3 separate regions of the Homo sapiens genome follow, and regions 1 and 2 are each linked to region 3. Evidence: promoter capture Hi-C in 16 types of primary human blood cells and fetal thymus (Javierre and others, 2016). All regions are on one chromosome and are shown on one strand. Each heading gives the region's core, a stretch centred on a gene start or on the middle of the fragment in contact. The rest is flanking DNA. Distances are from core to core; before and after follow the strand shown. Region 1 overlaps GBF1 (golgi brefeldin A resistant guanine nucleotide exchange factor 1). Region 2 holds the start of LOC107984263 (a long non-coding RNA gene). Region 3 holds the start of PPRC1 (PPARG related coactivator 1).

Evidence for each region. Contacts are between HindIII fragments. The CHiCAGO score rates a contact against its expected background, and 5 or more counts as called.
Region 1: a contact is called between a fragment that was not itself captured here and the fragment with the promoter of PPRC1 in region 3, in 1 of 17 cell types (M1 macrophages). The highest score is 5.4, in M1 macrophages.
Region 2: a fragment that was not itself captured here is called in contact with the fragment with the promoter of PPRC1 in region 3 in 2 of 17 cell types (M1 macrophages and activated CD4 T cells); the score reaches 7.8 in M1 macrophages.

What each region holds. Positions count from the first base shown.
Region 1 is chr10:102,367,154-102,371,753 of GRCh38, reverse strand. GBF1 (golgi brefeldin A resistant guanine nucleotide exchange factor 1) reads right to left here. Exons shown (of 40, transcript NM_001377137.1): 20 at 4,544-4,600; 21 at 4,194-4,276; 22 at 3,300-3,536; 23 at 2,922-3,015; 24 at 2,367-2,543; 25 at 1,979-2,043; 26 at 1,770-1,893; 27 at 1,509-1,580; 28 at 1,276-1,370; 29 at 894-1,047. Among named protein-coding and RNA genes, the nearest start is that of NFKB2, 26 kb to the left of the region's middle. The HindIII fragment of the contact is 1,997 bases long and covers 1,170-3,166 here.
Region 2 is chr10:102,349,627-102,354,512 of GRCh38, reverse strand. GBF1 (golgi brefeldin A resistant guanine nucleotide exchange factor 1) reads right to left here. Exons shown (of 40, transcript NM_001377137.1): 5 at 3,139-3,257; 6 at 2,562-2,670; 7 at 1,995-2,055; 8 at 859-913. LOC107984263 (a long non-coding RNA gene) reads left to right here and starts at 3,197. Exons shown (of 2, transcript XR_001747574.3): 1 at 3,197-3,311. The HindIII fragment of the contact is 162 bases long and covers 2,795-2,956 here.
Region 3 is chr10:102,129,661-102,134,614 of GRCh38, reverse strand. It overlaps PPRC1 (PPARG related coactivator 1), which reads right to left and starts at 1,575. Exons shown (of 14, transcript NM_015062.5): 1 at 1,394-1,575. The coding sequence starts at 1,546. RefSeq lists silencers at 903-1,022, 1,053-1,102, 1,313-1,492 and an enhancer at 1,473-1,752. The HindIII fragment of the contact is 8,495 bases long and covers 1-4,954 here.

The sequences.
Region 1 (4,600 bases), core at 919-3,418, 240 kb before region 3:
TTTCACCATGTTGGCCAGGCTGGCCTTGAACTCCTGACCTCAAGTGATCTGCCCGCTGTGGCCTCCCGCAGTGCTGAGATTACAGGCATGAACCACAGCAACCGGCCCAGAGAGAGTGATTCTTTCCACTTTATTCTTTCTAGCTATTCTAGAGCTTGTGCCTTTCCATCTAAATTTTAGAATAAGCTTACCTATGTCTACAAGAACCTTTCTGGGATTTTTATAGGAGTTATGTTGAATTTACAGATCAATTTGGGGAGAAGTGACAAAGTTACTATGTTGAGCCTTCCAATCCATGAACATAGTATGCCTCTTCATTTATTTACATCTTCTTCAATTTATTTTGTAGTTTTGTAGTTTTCATCATACAAATCTTATACATGTTTTGTCAGCTATATATTAAGTATTTCACTTTATTTGGAACCCTTGTAAATGGTATTGTATTTTAAATTTCAGTTTCCATATTGTTCATTGTTAGCATGTAGAGATATAATTACTTTTTGTGTATTGATCTCACATCCTGTGACCTTGTTGAATCCACTTATTAGTTCTATGCTTGTTGTTTTTTGTAGTTAAGCAAAGAGATCTCAAGAGGGTCATAAGCATGACAGGAAACCAGGTATAGGGCTGAGACTATTATAAGGCAGTAGCAGGCCAGTCCTACAAAGCAGATTCATAGGAGGCTGAGGTGCCAAACACAAGCTCCATGCCTGAGGCCATTCCAGGCTCACTCCCAGTACCACCCGCTAGACTGCACCAGCCCTGTGGTTGGTCACTGGACTCATGCTATGGGGCACTAAATGTACTCTCTGTCTCAGGCCATATTCATAATTGACAACTGTGGCCTTAATCCCTTGCATACCTGCCCACTCTCCAAGATGCATTCTGCTTACCTGAGCACTGATCTCTTCTCTCCGGAGAAGCCGAATGGCCAGGCGTAGCAACCCCACCACTGCCCGCTCCACAAGGAAGCAGAAATCTTGTGCCTGAACACAGAGGTGGTATAGATGGTCTCGAACAGTCTGCCACACACAGCCCACACGATCCCTGTGTAGACATAAAGGAATGAAGATAGTCTCAGCCAGAGGGGCCACTGGGCAACAGGTCCCCTAGGCCTTTCAGGACTCATTGGTATTATACCCTAAGTAGACAGGTATGATGAGTAAGCTTCTCCCCTGCTGCCTACAGTTCCCCAGAGCCCACTCAGCAAGATGGCTTCCATCCCTTTGGCACAAGCCCAGCATGGGGTCTGCCTAAAGACTACGCTCATCTTACCTGTTCTCCAACACAATCCTTAGCAGCATCTCTAGGCAGAAAGCAGCATCTTCCTCATCATATGTCTCTTCATCTGGTGTCACTGAGACCAGAGCCTGAAGGGGAACAGCAGCAGGAAAGTAGGCATGGAAAAGAAGCCAACCACTGGCCCTGCCCTGACAGAAATAATACTGTCCCTGTCACCCCTCCCAGATTCAGCCAGTTGTTCCATGTTTCCTTTCTTCATCCTTTACCTTCATGAGCTCCTGTAGTGACTCCAGCTGGAGGAACTTGCTTTCTGTGATCATTTTTTCTGGGTCACATTGCTAGAGAGGGCAAAAGAGAGAGGGGGTCTTTGACAAAGGCTGAAGAGAACAGAATGTCCCCAAGAGCCAGGGGGAGAGGGCAGAGTCAGCCCTGGTTACAAATCCTGGATGATTTATTCTTCAGTTCACCAAGTAGCATCTAATAGGAAGGTGTTTAGGCTTTCTCACCAGGGGTGGATGGGCAGTTACCTTTATACACTCTAAGGCCACTCTCTTGGCCTCTTGGTTTTCAGTGGATGGGCCCCGAACACTAGACTGCTCAGGACCACTCAGTGTTAGCCAGCTCACAAAGCTCAGCACTGTTGACTCTCCTCTGTAGAAAAAGGGCACATGGCCTGGTGAGCCCCAAAGTTCTGACTCTCCCTCCCCAAGCCCCTGAGCCTCTGGTCTGCTCTTACCGGTTTGATGGTGTCTCTTCCCGCTGTAGAGAGATCTTGCCATTGGGATCCACGAAATCTTCTACCTGGAAAAGTAAGTCAAAATAATTTCTTTCCATGTGTCCTTTGCATTTGTGCCCGCCTCCACCCACCAAAGTTCTCTGGATTTCCTCCTCTAGTCTTCTGCCCCTATGCTATTGTGCCAATTGGTGACTGGCAATGGCATCTACCAGCCTTCTTTTACAGCTATCCCCCAAGATCTGTGGTCTTACATTTGAGGCATTCCTGGTGAGCTGTGGCAGGCATCAGGCCCAACATTACTCTCAACCACTTACTTCTATGTACAGGTAGCATACAATGTTGCAGCTCTTGCCTTGTTATCGCTCACTAGTCTCCTACTAAGAATTACCTCTATCATAGCCTTGGGCAGTAGTTGGGCTCGGAAGAGCTGCAGCATGGCCTCCATGATATTCTTCCAGCCCTCCCGCAGGATGTCACCATGACGATGGGCCAAATGGAATACTGTCTTGGCTGCAATATGGGCTTTAGGGTTGCTTCCAAATACACTGGGCAGGTTCTCAATAGACTGGAAAAGAGGAAGAGAACAGACTTAAGGCCGAGCTAATGTCTGGAAAGGAAAATCTCTTAGGTCTCTGCCTATGATGGTTCCCTCAGGTCCTTTTGTTGGCTCTGCTTCAATCCCCCATAATACTGGTGGGAGTGGGTTAACCTAGTTAAGGCCTTCCCCACTCCTGTATCTCCTTTCCCATCCCCATTACATGAAGTAACACTAGTTTTATCCCAGAGTGTGCAAGACAGAAATGGCCTAAGCTCTGGTATATTCAAGTGGGGGCAGTGAGGGAAGACGCTGAGGGCAACCAGGTCTGTTGATAAGGGTAGATCCATGGCTAAAAGAGAGGTCCTCCTTTGGAGCTCCAAGTACACAGTTCCTGCACCTGCTCACCTCACTGCTGAGAGCTGTGAATTTGCATAGAGAGATGATGAGATTGTCAAACACATCGCTGAGGCCATAGTGGGCGGAGATCATGGCGCACTTCCTGTAATGTTACCCCCCATCCCAGAAACAGAGTCACTGGAAGGCCAAGCAGCCCTTCCAAGTCCCTGAGCTTGCATGGGGCTCTTCCCCAGTCAGTCCCAGGAAGAAACCTTTTAATTTTGTTTCTGTTTAAGACTGAGCCTACCCAAGCTTCAGCCTCCCTCCAAAAACTCAGGGGGAACCCCATTCTAATGAAGTAACAGTAGGAGTCAGAGAGGCATGGAGAAAACCATGTTAGCTCACAGAGCTAGTGGGAGGTGAAGACCAAGGCCAAAGCTGGGCTACCTGAAGCCTGAGATGGCTTTCTGGATGATTGTCTCCTCAAGGCTTTTGTCAAAGACATAAGAGAGAGCAGCAATAGTGGGGCCCCAGGTCATGGTGAAGAGGTCAAGATCATAGCTGGCAGTAGGCACACGCAGGAATATGCCCTCAGGGGTGGCACCTCGATGAAGCAGCACATTCCACACATAGTTCTCCCGAACCAAGCCTGTCTGCTCCTCAGGCATTACAATTTCCTCATTCCTGTCAGGAGGTAAGGGAAGGAGCAGTTGCACTGCTTTGAACCTGACTAGTTCCAAACCAAGACTAGGAGTTCATCCATACTAGCACTCTCCACTGATGAGAGGTCATCAGAACTGCAGCTCAGTGGTCTGCTTTCCACCCACCAGTGGGAGCAGACAGAAAGAAAGGAAGTGTCCCATAATCTCAAAGCCCTATCTGTAAGTGAGGCCTTTAGTTCTATAGTAAGATCACACATTCTTACTAGGTGTGATAAAATGAACAATTCTACCTTTTCTGATTTACAGTAAAAAACTAAGTGGCCCATTTCTGACCTGTAACCTGGGCCTCACACTCCAGTGCCCATCTTGGGTTCTCTACCAGCCAGCATCTTGTAATCTATACAGGAAAATGTACCTGTTTTAAGTTCAGAAAATGGGGCCATGATATCCTACTTAAGAGCAGCACTTTGGACCCTGGCTTAGAGTACTAGAGTCCCAATATCATTTGGGCTTCTTTAAGGAAGAAACAGTTGGCAGAGAGGGGGCTGCCCAACTAAGTCCTGAGGCTAAATCCAGGGCATGTGAGTCACTGCAGTCTGACATGACTCTAAAAACTGGGAAAGGAAGCAATGTGCTTCTTCTTAACAGAGATACTGCACTATTCTCTATGTATACTCACTTGATGGCATGGTACATGTCCTCCAGGATGTCTTGCTCAAAGTCCTTGCCTCCATTCACACCTTTCAGATTTTTGCGAAACTCCTAGAGACAGGCCAGTAAGTTTTTTCCCCTTGTGTCAACACTGAAGCCCCACCTAAGGAACTCCTGGGTTTTCAGTAAATAGGACTTAGGAAAAGGTAAGCGAAAAAACCCACTTCCCCACCCCAGTCCCTTTTCTAGGTTGGCCAGCCCTTCCTGATTCCCTTGGACAGAACCCCATCCATCATGCCCACTGGAAATCCTATGTCCTTCCTGCTACCTCCCAAGCTGTGCTGGGTCTTCTTTGCCTTGACTGGGACCCAAGCTTACCTCCAGGGTCATGGGTGCATTCTGTTTACGAACATTGTGGTTGTGCTGGTCAGTATT
Region 2 (4,886 bases), core at 1,626-4,125, 220 kb before region 3:
ATTGAAAGAAATAAAAAGGGGAAGGGAAAGAGAGGGAGAGAGACCTTGAGGTTCTTAAAGAGTAGTACCCTCTCTAACTGGTTCAGGGCTTTGGTCTGCTCCCCACTACTTAGCTCCAGTTTGTTGAGGAGACATGGAGATATCTGCGAAAGACAGGCAAACGCACGATTTAACAGTGAAATAAACTCAGACACATACCAACAGGGAACAGGGCAGGAATGGGGATGGATGACAGGGGAGAGGAGAAGGTCAGGTGCATGCATCACACAGCTAAGGGTCATCTCCATAGGTAGACCCTCTTAGGGCTGCAAGCGGAATCCTCATCAGAGGCCCGTGAAGTCCAGGGCTTCAGTTCAAGATAGAAAGAAGCCATTCTTTTGACCACTATTCTTCTCCTAGCAGTTTAAGAACCCTTTGGTTCTTAACTTGACTAATCTCTTCAATACAGACTAGCACAAGCAAGAGCCCAGTCTAATTCAGCATTGAGGTAGGATTTGGGACATAGCCTCTCTAGGCCTTCTACCTGCGGATAAGGCTAAGTCTTGAGGGGATGGCAGGACTTTCATCTTTGTCAACAGACATTTTTAGCCAAGACTGATGGGTACCATGCAGTTTCCATGAAGAACTGGCTCACCAGCTTACATGGTGGTTCAAAGATAGGCCAGAGCAGAAAAGCTGAGGAAGGGATATATCTGGAAGAGAATACATTTCTCACGAAAGGAGTGAGAGCTACTTCTAGATTCCAAGCAGACCTGTTTAGGCAAAAGCATATCTTTGCTAAGCAAGGTTACCCCAAGGCACTGAAGTTGGGAGATTAAGGTTTGGATGAGGGACAGCAGATCAGCTCTCAGATCATACCTTCTTCATGTTGGTCCCCACATAGTTCTTGGGTTCTTCTTTAAACTGAGGTAACCTATAAGATAGAAAATCCATCAACTGTCATTAGGGATAATGACAAATGTCTCCCTCCATGCCAGCCACAAACCAAAGGTGCTCTGAGCCAGAGCATGCCCTGTGTCTTAGAAAAGGCTACAAAAGAGAAGCAGACTAATTTCATCCTTTTCAGAGCTTCATCAAAGAGCCACAGGAATCGGGGGATGTGTGACATGGACAAAAGGAGGTAGTTGTGAGAGCAAGGTAAGTGCCCTTGGAGTGTGGAGGCTCTTTTTATCCTGAGACTGATTCCTTCCTGCTTATATTTACTTGGCAAATACTGCTGCCAAGAGATGGGGGGAGGGCAGTCTATCAAAACCCTAGGAGAGTGGGCAAAAGAGAAGAATTAACAGGCAGGTTGAAGTTTTGAAACCAGTAAATTTGAGCCTGAGGAGCAAAAAATTCTTTGCAGCAGGATCCAAGGGCAGTCTAGTCTGTAGATAATAAGGATTATTATCTATAGATTTGAGAGCAAAAAGAAATCCCAGAGGAAGGTTTAAAGCCATTGCCTCAGCTCTTCTGTGAGTCTGTTGAAAGGAGGTGCAGGAAACAGGCCTAGTATGAAAAGGCCTCCTAGGCCCTAGGCTAAGGGCCTTACCAAAGGGTAACCAACCATCTTGGTTTGCCTGGGACTGAGGGGGGTTTGCCAGGATGCAGAACTTTTAGTGCTGAAATCAGGACAGTCCCAGGCAATTCACAATTGCTAGTCACCCTAATTTTGGCCCTCTCCCACAGAAATCATGATCCCTTGAGTTTGGCTTCCTCTCTGGGTTCCCTTTCCCAGCTGCTACCTGCACAGAAACAGACACAAATTTGGGAAGCAGAATGAGGTCTGCTGGCCTATATTAAATAACCCTCTGCCTCCCCGTGAGGCCAAATCAGCTCCCTCCTCCTTCTCCCTTGCTCAGTAACCCTGGGCCCAGAGAACTACCCCCCATCCATAATCCCAGTGGCCTCTGATGCGGCTGTGGGGTTGGCCAGGTCCCTGACGTGGCTGTGTGGAAGCAGGCAGACTCAAGAGGCCTGGGCAGCCGGGCTGAAGCAAACAGCAGCAGGTTTACCTTGTGAAGAGCAGCTGCACCATGTCTACGAGAGTGTGCTCTGCGGATTTTCTCAATAACTCTGCACAGGCAAAAACAAATAACACAGGTGTCATTACTTGCTGTGCTATTATCAAGAGGGTTCTCAGAGCAGACTCCCCTCCAAACCTTGTTTACCAAGGATTATGCCAAACTTATTAAAACCAGCTCCAGCTCAGCCTGGCAGCCAGAACTTCACTGGCCCACTAGGTGGCACTACTGAGTCAGGGAAAAAAGGGGAGGTATAGATGTGTTCTAGGGGGTTGCAGGTTGGTGTCAATCCCAGAAACCCCAAGAGAGGGTGATTTGGTGCCTGGGCTAAGTCAATCTGGGATCCATCCCAACTCCTGCCCTGGCATAATGGGCTGAGGTCTCTATTCTAGCTTCACAATAGCCAAGTACAGACATTTCTTCTAGACCCCTATGATCGCATGAGATAGATGATGGAGAAGTCCTGAATTTTCCATCTCTCTGGGAAGACAGCCTCCTGTATTCATACTCAGACACTGGCCCCAGGAATGGTGAAGGGGCTAATATCCAAGCACCTACCACTGAGCCTCATTTCAAAGCAGATCCGGAAGCAAGACTGCATAATCTCACACACAGATTCATTGGTTAGGTGGGCACCCACTGGGGTTAGCAGCAGAGTCCGTAGAACCTATCAGGAAGAAAAAGGAATTACTGTGATAAACAAGGTACTGAGAGGTACTCAAGGGTAAGAGAGAGGGGTTAGCAAGAATGCTGACCTCACCTCAGCTTGGTAGAGAGGTCTCCAAGAAGCTTGTCCTTGGAATTGTTTCTTCACTTTTTATGACCCTGACATATTTCAGAACTGATTCTAGCCCTAGCCCATGAGCCCAAGAGATGGACGGCACAAATACAGTCGGCCAGAGGTACAAGTGTATTTAAGGCTTCTGGTATTTGACATCACTTCATATAAAGCTTTTACTGATTTTCCTTAGAAAAAGCTTTTACTTTGGGTACCCCAGCTGCTTGTCTGGAAACAAAGTAGCTCCCCTAAGCCCCAGTGGAGTCAAAACACAGTTTCATGCTGTGGGCAGAGTAAGTAGAGTCTGCGGCACCAGCCCCTGGCCATTAGCCTAATTGCTATTTCCCTCTCGCTTACCTGAAGGATTTTCATCAGGACAACTTCATCACTGGCAGGATCCGTGCCCACAAAACGAGCATGGGTGACAGCATCTGCCATGTTCTCCATGCCCTCTGCTGTGCCCTCATGGGTGGGATCTGCTCCAGCGAAAAAGGAAAGATTAAGTGATGTGGAGAGGAGAGAGATAAAAGGTAAGGCAGCCTGTCTAGCTTTGAGAGACAGTTTTTCCTCTTCAGTTCCCTAACCCGTGGCTCCTTGAGCTACCTGAGAATTTTTGCCCACAACTGATTTTTTTTTTTTTTTTTTGAGACAGAGTCTCACTTTGTGGCCCAGGCTGGAGTGCAATGACGTGATCTCAGCTTACTGCAACCTCCGCCTCTTGGGTTCAAGCGATTTTCCTGCCTTAGCCTCCCGAGTAGCTGGCATTACAGGCGCCCACCACCATGCCCAGCTAATTTTTTTTGTACTTTTAGTAGAGATGGGGTTTTGCCATGTTGGCTAGGCTGGTCTTGAACTCCTGACCTCAGGTGATCCACCTGCCTCGGCCTCCCAAAGTGCTGGGATTACAGATGTGAGCCACTGCACCCGGCCCCATAACTGGTTTTAATGAGCTCCTCAACACAAAATCCACTGGGTAAAACTGTGGTTCTCAATTGCTGGACCCATACCACAAAGTTTTGATTTTGTATGCCCAGAGTGGGGCCTGAGAATTTGTGTTTCTAACAAGACCCCAGTTGAAGTTAAACACCACCGAGCAGGGGACCATACTCTGGGAATCACTAGTATAAATCTACTAATTTCATAGACGAGGGGCCTGGAAACAAGAGTTTTTGACTCAGAACAAGAACCAGGTAGGGCCAAAGCTTGTGGCCTTTTCTCCTTTCATCTTTCAACACAGCTTCTCTCTCTGGTTGCTTTTGGAGTTTTGTGTTCAGGCGCAACTGAATTAGGGGAGCAGGAGGAGGAAATGAACACTCACTGCCGCCAATACTCATATCTGAGTGCCACATTACAGCAGATTGAAGACTTTTTTTTTTTTTTTGGAGATGGAGTTTCGCTCTTGTTGGCAGGCTGGAGTGCTATGGTGAGATCCTGGCTCACTGCAACCTCCGTCTCCTAGGTTCAAGCGATTCTCCTGCCTGAGGCTTCCCGAGTAGCTGGGATTACAGGCATGCGCCGCCACGCCTGGCTAATTTTGTATTTTTAGTAGAGACAGGGTTTCTCCATGTTGGTCAGGCTGGTCTCGAACTCCCGACCTCAGGTATCTGCCAGCCTCGGCCTCCCAAAGTGCTGGGATTACAGGTGTGAGCTACCATGCCTGGCCCAAAGACCTCTTCTTTAGTTTCATTCTTATTTAAAATAATATGACGACGAGCAAGAATCCTGTTTCCAGCTTAACAGGCATTAGGAGAGAAAAAAGATAAACTAAACAGGACTGGAGGCTGACTAGCTGGGGGGTAGGCAGGAGGGAGAATTTCAGCTGTACAGAATAAGAGGGGAGAAGCTAGAGGTCAGACAACCGGCACCACGCTGGAAATGAACACAAATGCTATTAAGCAGGGAACTCAGCTCCCATTCATGTATTAAATAGCCACGAGAAATAGCCAAATAAGTTGTCACCATCAAGGGTCTTGCCTAGCTCCTGCCCTAGGTCTGCTCTGAAGGATCCTTTCCAGAGCTGTTTAGTTCTAAAGGGGGAGCCTAAGTAGGGGGAAAGGGCAGGCATATGAAAAAGCTTTGTGAGTGACAGAGAAAGTTGCTCCAGA
Region 3 (4,954 bases), core at 326-2,825:
CCCCTGGGCAAGGGCCTGGATTGGTCTGCCGGACCTGATATTACCAGGCAGCCTGCAGCCCAACTCCCACCTAGTAACACACAAAAAATGCTGTCAAGGACTCAGCTTAATTGTTTAAGAGAGGTAACAGTTCAAACTAATTCCTGCCCCTTCTACCCTGGGTGGAAACTTTTAAGAAGCCCTCCACTGTAGAGTAGAACAATAACACTTTTTGAAGGCCAAGAAAAAAATATCTAACAGAATCCTCCTCATCCAGTGTATGTTCAACTGTTGAACATGTTGAACAGTTCTCAAACCGCCTCCAACTTTTCCCATCCCCAGCAAAAAATCCGAAGAGCCTTAAGTACGGACCACCCCAGTTTCTGCGTGTCAGATTACAGGAGCATGCCTTCCCAAAAGAGATGCTGGAGGAAAAAGTGAGGAGAGGATTCCCTTTCCCTTTCTTAACCTTGTCCCAGGTGTATGTTGACACTCCCCATACCCCTTGAATCACTAATAAGGCAAGACTGCAAGGCAACCAAAACGCCAATGCCCGTGACTCACAACCCACCCCAAGCCGGTCAGACGGAAGCGCCACAAACTCACTCCTCCACAACCCTTCAGCCTCAGCCCTCTACCCTCCCCATCACACTCAGCCATCCGCAGGGAACAAACTCCCGCAACATCTGGAGAGTCCTTCACCATCCGCAGTGGAGAGACGTTGCGGACCCAAGCAGCAGGGAAAAAAAAAACCTCCAAGGCTCTGAACAAAGTTGACTCTAGCAGCCCTTACCTTCCTTCCCGGCCCGGGCCTCCAGCCCCGGCAGGAGATGGCGGGACCCGTGGAGACACACCCAGTTCGCGTCAGCCAGGCTCCAAGGCCGATACTAGATGCCCGACAGCCTGGGACGGGAGCCACGTGGACGTTCCTTCCCCGCCCCCACGTGGACCCGCTGCCTGCGCCCCCCTCCACCAGGAGCCCGACCCACGTGGATGCCCGGGCCGCCTAGAGGGGGAGGGGAGGCAGACAAGTTCTCCCGGGAAAATTGCTCCCCCAACCCCACGTGGCTCCGAAAAGGGAACTGCGGCGCCGGGCTCGGGGAGCCTCACTGGGCATCCTTACATGGAGGTCTCAGCCTTCGACCCCAAGTCCGAACCCCTGACCCCCAGCCGCGGGTTATGTTTCCGACACCCCGCTCTCCCCCTCCGGCGTCCCCCAGGAATGGCCGTAGAGACGCTGCCTCTGCCCGCCTACCCCCAGCAAACGGCCTAGGGCCCACTTGCTCCGGCCCGGCTCCCGCGGCCACCCGGCATCGACTCTCAGGCGCTTCCTCTCTTTCCTGTGGCGTCCACGTGTCACCGCCCGGCACACACCGCTTTGCTGCCTGTCGCGGGCCGCCAGCCAACCTCTCACCTGCTCGCCGCCGCTCACAGCGCCCAAAGTCCCATACGGCGCTTGGCTTCGACTTCCCCAACCACTGCCGCGGGCTCCCCCGCCAGGGTCCGGACCGGGGCCCCCACTCGGGGGCGGCGCGACTCCGTCTCTCCGTCCCCGGCGCGCCGCCATCTTGGCCCCTGAACACCCAGCGCTGCTCTGATCGCTGGCGCCGCCTCGCCCAGCCGATTGTGGGAAAGGAACTACAACTCCCGAATGACACTGCAAGACTACGAATCCCAGAGAGCCGTGCGGCGAGACCCACTTGCACCCTGGAAGAAGGCCCTGGCCTCGCGCGAAGGTTCCTGGGAGTAGTAGTCCCTTTAAGTGGGGACCGTTTGGCACTAGCTGCAGGCATCCTGTAGGGCTTAGTTTTGCGTTACACTGGGATACCGATTTAGGGAGCGCTCAGCAGTTAGGGGGAAAGTTAACATTTGCGTATTTTATTGTCGTTAACTTGTCCAACTGTTGGAACGTCCTCTTTGACGTTCTACCTGCTGTACGTTCCTTTCACCTTAGTCCAAGTGGGGCCAAGTGGGCCTGTATATGTTTTGAAACACCACCCCCTAGTGGGCACTTGCGCTCCAAGCGCTAATCCTCACCTAATCCCATATTGCGGCAGTACTGCAAACTTAATCGGAAAATGTCGCGTTCTCCGCCCTCTCTGCTACTACTCAGAAACTTACGTTGCCTTCTCTATCAAATTTGTTTCTTGCTGTTTCAGGTCTCCTTGCTGTTCCCTAAAGACAACAGGTGTTCTCCTGCCTATATGTCGACCTGGAATACTTGAACCTCAAAACATTTCATGCCTTATTTAATCTAGGAAAGGCTTTGGTTGTCCTAGCCAAGAGGGATCCCGCTCTGCGTTTCTACGGTCCATCACTGTCTCTACTCTTCATTCATTTGCCACTTAAAAGCTACTTCATATTTGCTATTTTTAAATAACTTTTTACAAAGCACAAAAATTATTTCAAAAAGTACAAGACTGTTTAGAGGAAAAAAAGTAGTAGGCCTGCAAATTATAGTTCTACTGCCCAGATTTAAACCCCTTGTTACTTTTAGTGTGTATTCATTGACGCTTTTTTCTATGAATGGAAAAATATATAGGGGCACAAATTGGTGATTTGCTTTTTTTATGTAACAATATGTTAATCCACTCACTAGCTAAATATTTACTGAGCCTTTAGCACCAGTTCTATTTTATGAATGTATTGTTATTTAAATTATATTGAAGTTGTTTCTGGCCGTGGCTCGGTGACTCACACTTGTAGTCCCAGCACTTTGGGAGGCTGAAGTGGGTGAATCACTTGAACTAAGGAGTTTGAGACCAGCCTGGACAACATGGCAAAACCCCACCTCTACCAAAAATTTAAAAATTAGCTGGACATGGTGGCACACATCTGTGGTCCCAGCTACTCGGGAGGCCGAGGCAGGAGGATTGCTTGAACCCAGGAGGTGGAGGTTGTAGTGAGCCAAGATCATGCCACAGCACTCCAACTTGGGTGACAGAGTGAGACTTCTTCTCAAAAATAAATAATATTTAAGTTGTTTACAGTTTCTCACTATTACATATTATTATGATGAACACCCTTGCATATGTCATGTACATGTACCTTTGCACTTTTGTGCAATCTTTCTGTGGAATAGTTTCCATGAAATTCAAGTGCCGAGTTAAACAATGCATGTATTTGAAATACAGTAGAAAATTGCCCTTTAGAAATATTGCATCACTATACATCCCCACACATGTTCATGAAAAGAGAGGACCTTTTCTGGACCTTTTCTTAGATGTTCTTTCTTTTTTTTTTTTTTGTTAGACAATAGGGTTTTACTCTGTCACCCAGGGCTGCAGTGTGGAGTGCGGTGAGCAAGAGTGCCGTGGCAGATCATAGCATAGCTCACTGTGATCTCTCAAGCTCAAAGGATCCATCTGCCTCAGCCTCCAGAGTAGCTGGGTACTACAGGTACACACTGCCATGCCCAGCTAATTTTTTTTTTTTTTTTTTTGAGATGGAGTGTCACTCTGTCACCAGGCTGGAGTGCAGTGGCGCGATCTTGGCTCACTGCAACCTCCACCTCCCAGGTTCAAGTGATTCTCCTGCCTCAGCCTCCCGAGTAGGTGGGACTACAGGTGCCCACCACCACACCCAGCTAATTTGTTTTTGTATTTTTAGTAGAGACAGGGTTTCACCATGTTGGCCAGGACGGTCTCGATCTCTTGACCTCGTGATTTGCCTGCCTCGGCCTCCCAAAGTGCTGGGATTACAGGGGTGAGCCACCACGCCTGGCCATGCCCAGCTAATTTTTTGGGGGTTCTTGGGGGGTCTCACATCTTGCCCAGGCTGTTCTCCAACTCTTAGCCTCAGAAGATCCTCCTGCCTTGGCCTCCCAATGTGTTGGGATTACAGGTGTCAGCCAGTGTGCCTGGCTGTTTAGTTGTTTCTTTTGTTTTGTTTTTTGTGTGTGAGATGGAGTTTCACTCTTGTCACCCAGGCTGGAGTGCAATGGCGCAATCTCGGCTCACCGCAACCTCCGCCTCCCAGGTTCAAGTGATTCTTGTGCCTCAGCCTCCTGAGTAGCTGGGGTTACAGGCATGTGCCACCACGCCCAGCTAATTTTGTATTTTTAGTAGAGAGGGGGTTTCTCCATGTTGGTCTGGCTGGTCTCAAACTCCTGACCTCAGGTGATCTGCCTGCCTCAGCCTCCCAAAGTTCTGGGATTACGGGCGTGAGCCACTGCGCCCAGCCCTGTTTAGTTGTTTTTTTTTTTTTTTTTTTTTTTTTTGAGAAGGATTCTTGCTCTGTCACCCAGGCTGGAGTGCAGTGGCGCGATCTCGGCTCACTGCAAGCTCTGCCTCCCGGGTTCATGCCATTTTCCTGCCTCAGCCTCCCCAGCAGCTGGGACTACAGGCACCTGCCACCACGCCTGGCTAATTTTTTTGTATATTTAGTAGAGATGGGGTTTCACCATGTTAACCAGGATGGTCTCGATTTCCTGATCTCGTGATCTGCCCATCTTGGCCTCCCAAAGTGCTGGGATTACAGGCATGAGCCACAGCGCCCAGCCTAATTGTTTCTTAATTAGTTGTTTCAGGTGAATTAACTTTGTCTTCTCAAAAAGGCTTTAAAAGCCACTAATTTGGAAACTGAGTCTTGTTCACAGTTTTCTGTATAAAATAGTCATATGAGGAGCAACAATAAAGTTTGAAATAAAGTTGCCTATGAGCAGCCAGCAAGATTAATACAGATGGCATAGTTTTTCCTGTGTGGAAGATGCATACTCTAAAAGATGCTCTAAGGCTGGGCACAGTGGCTCACGCCTGTAATTACAACACTTTGGGAGGCCGAGGCAGGCGGATCACCGAGGTCAGGAATTCAAGACCAGCCTGGCCAACATGGCAAAACCCTGTCTCTACTAAAAATACAAAAATTAGCCAAGCGTGGTGGCGCCTACCTGTAATCCCAGCTACTCAGGAGGCTGAGGCAGGGAGAATCGCTTGAACCCGGGAGGCAGAGGTTGCAGTGAGCCAAGATCACGCTG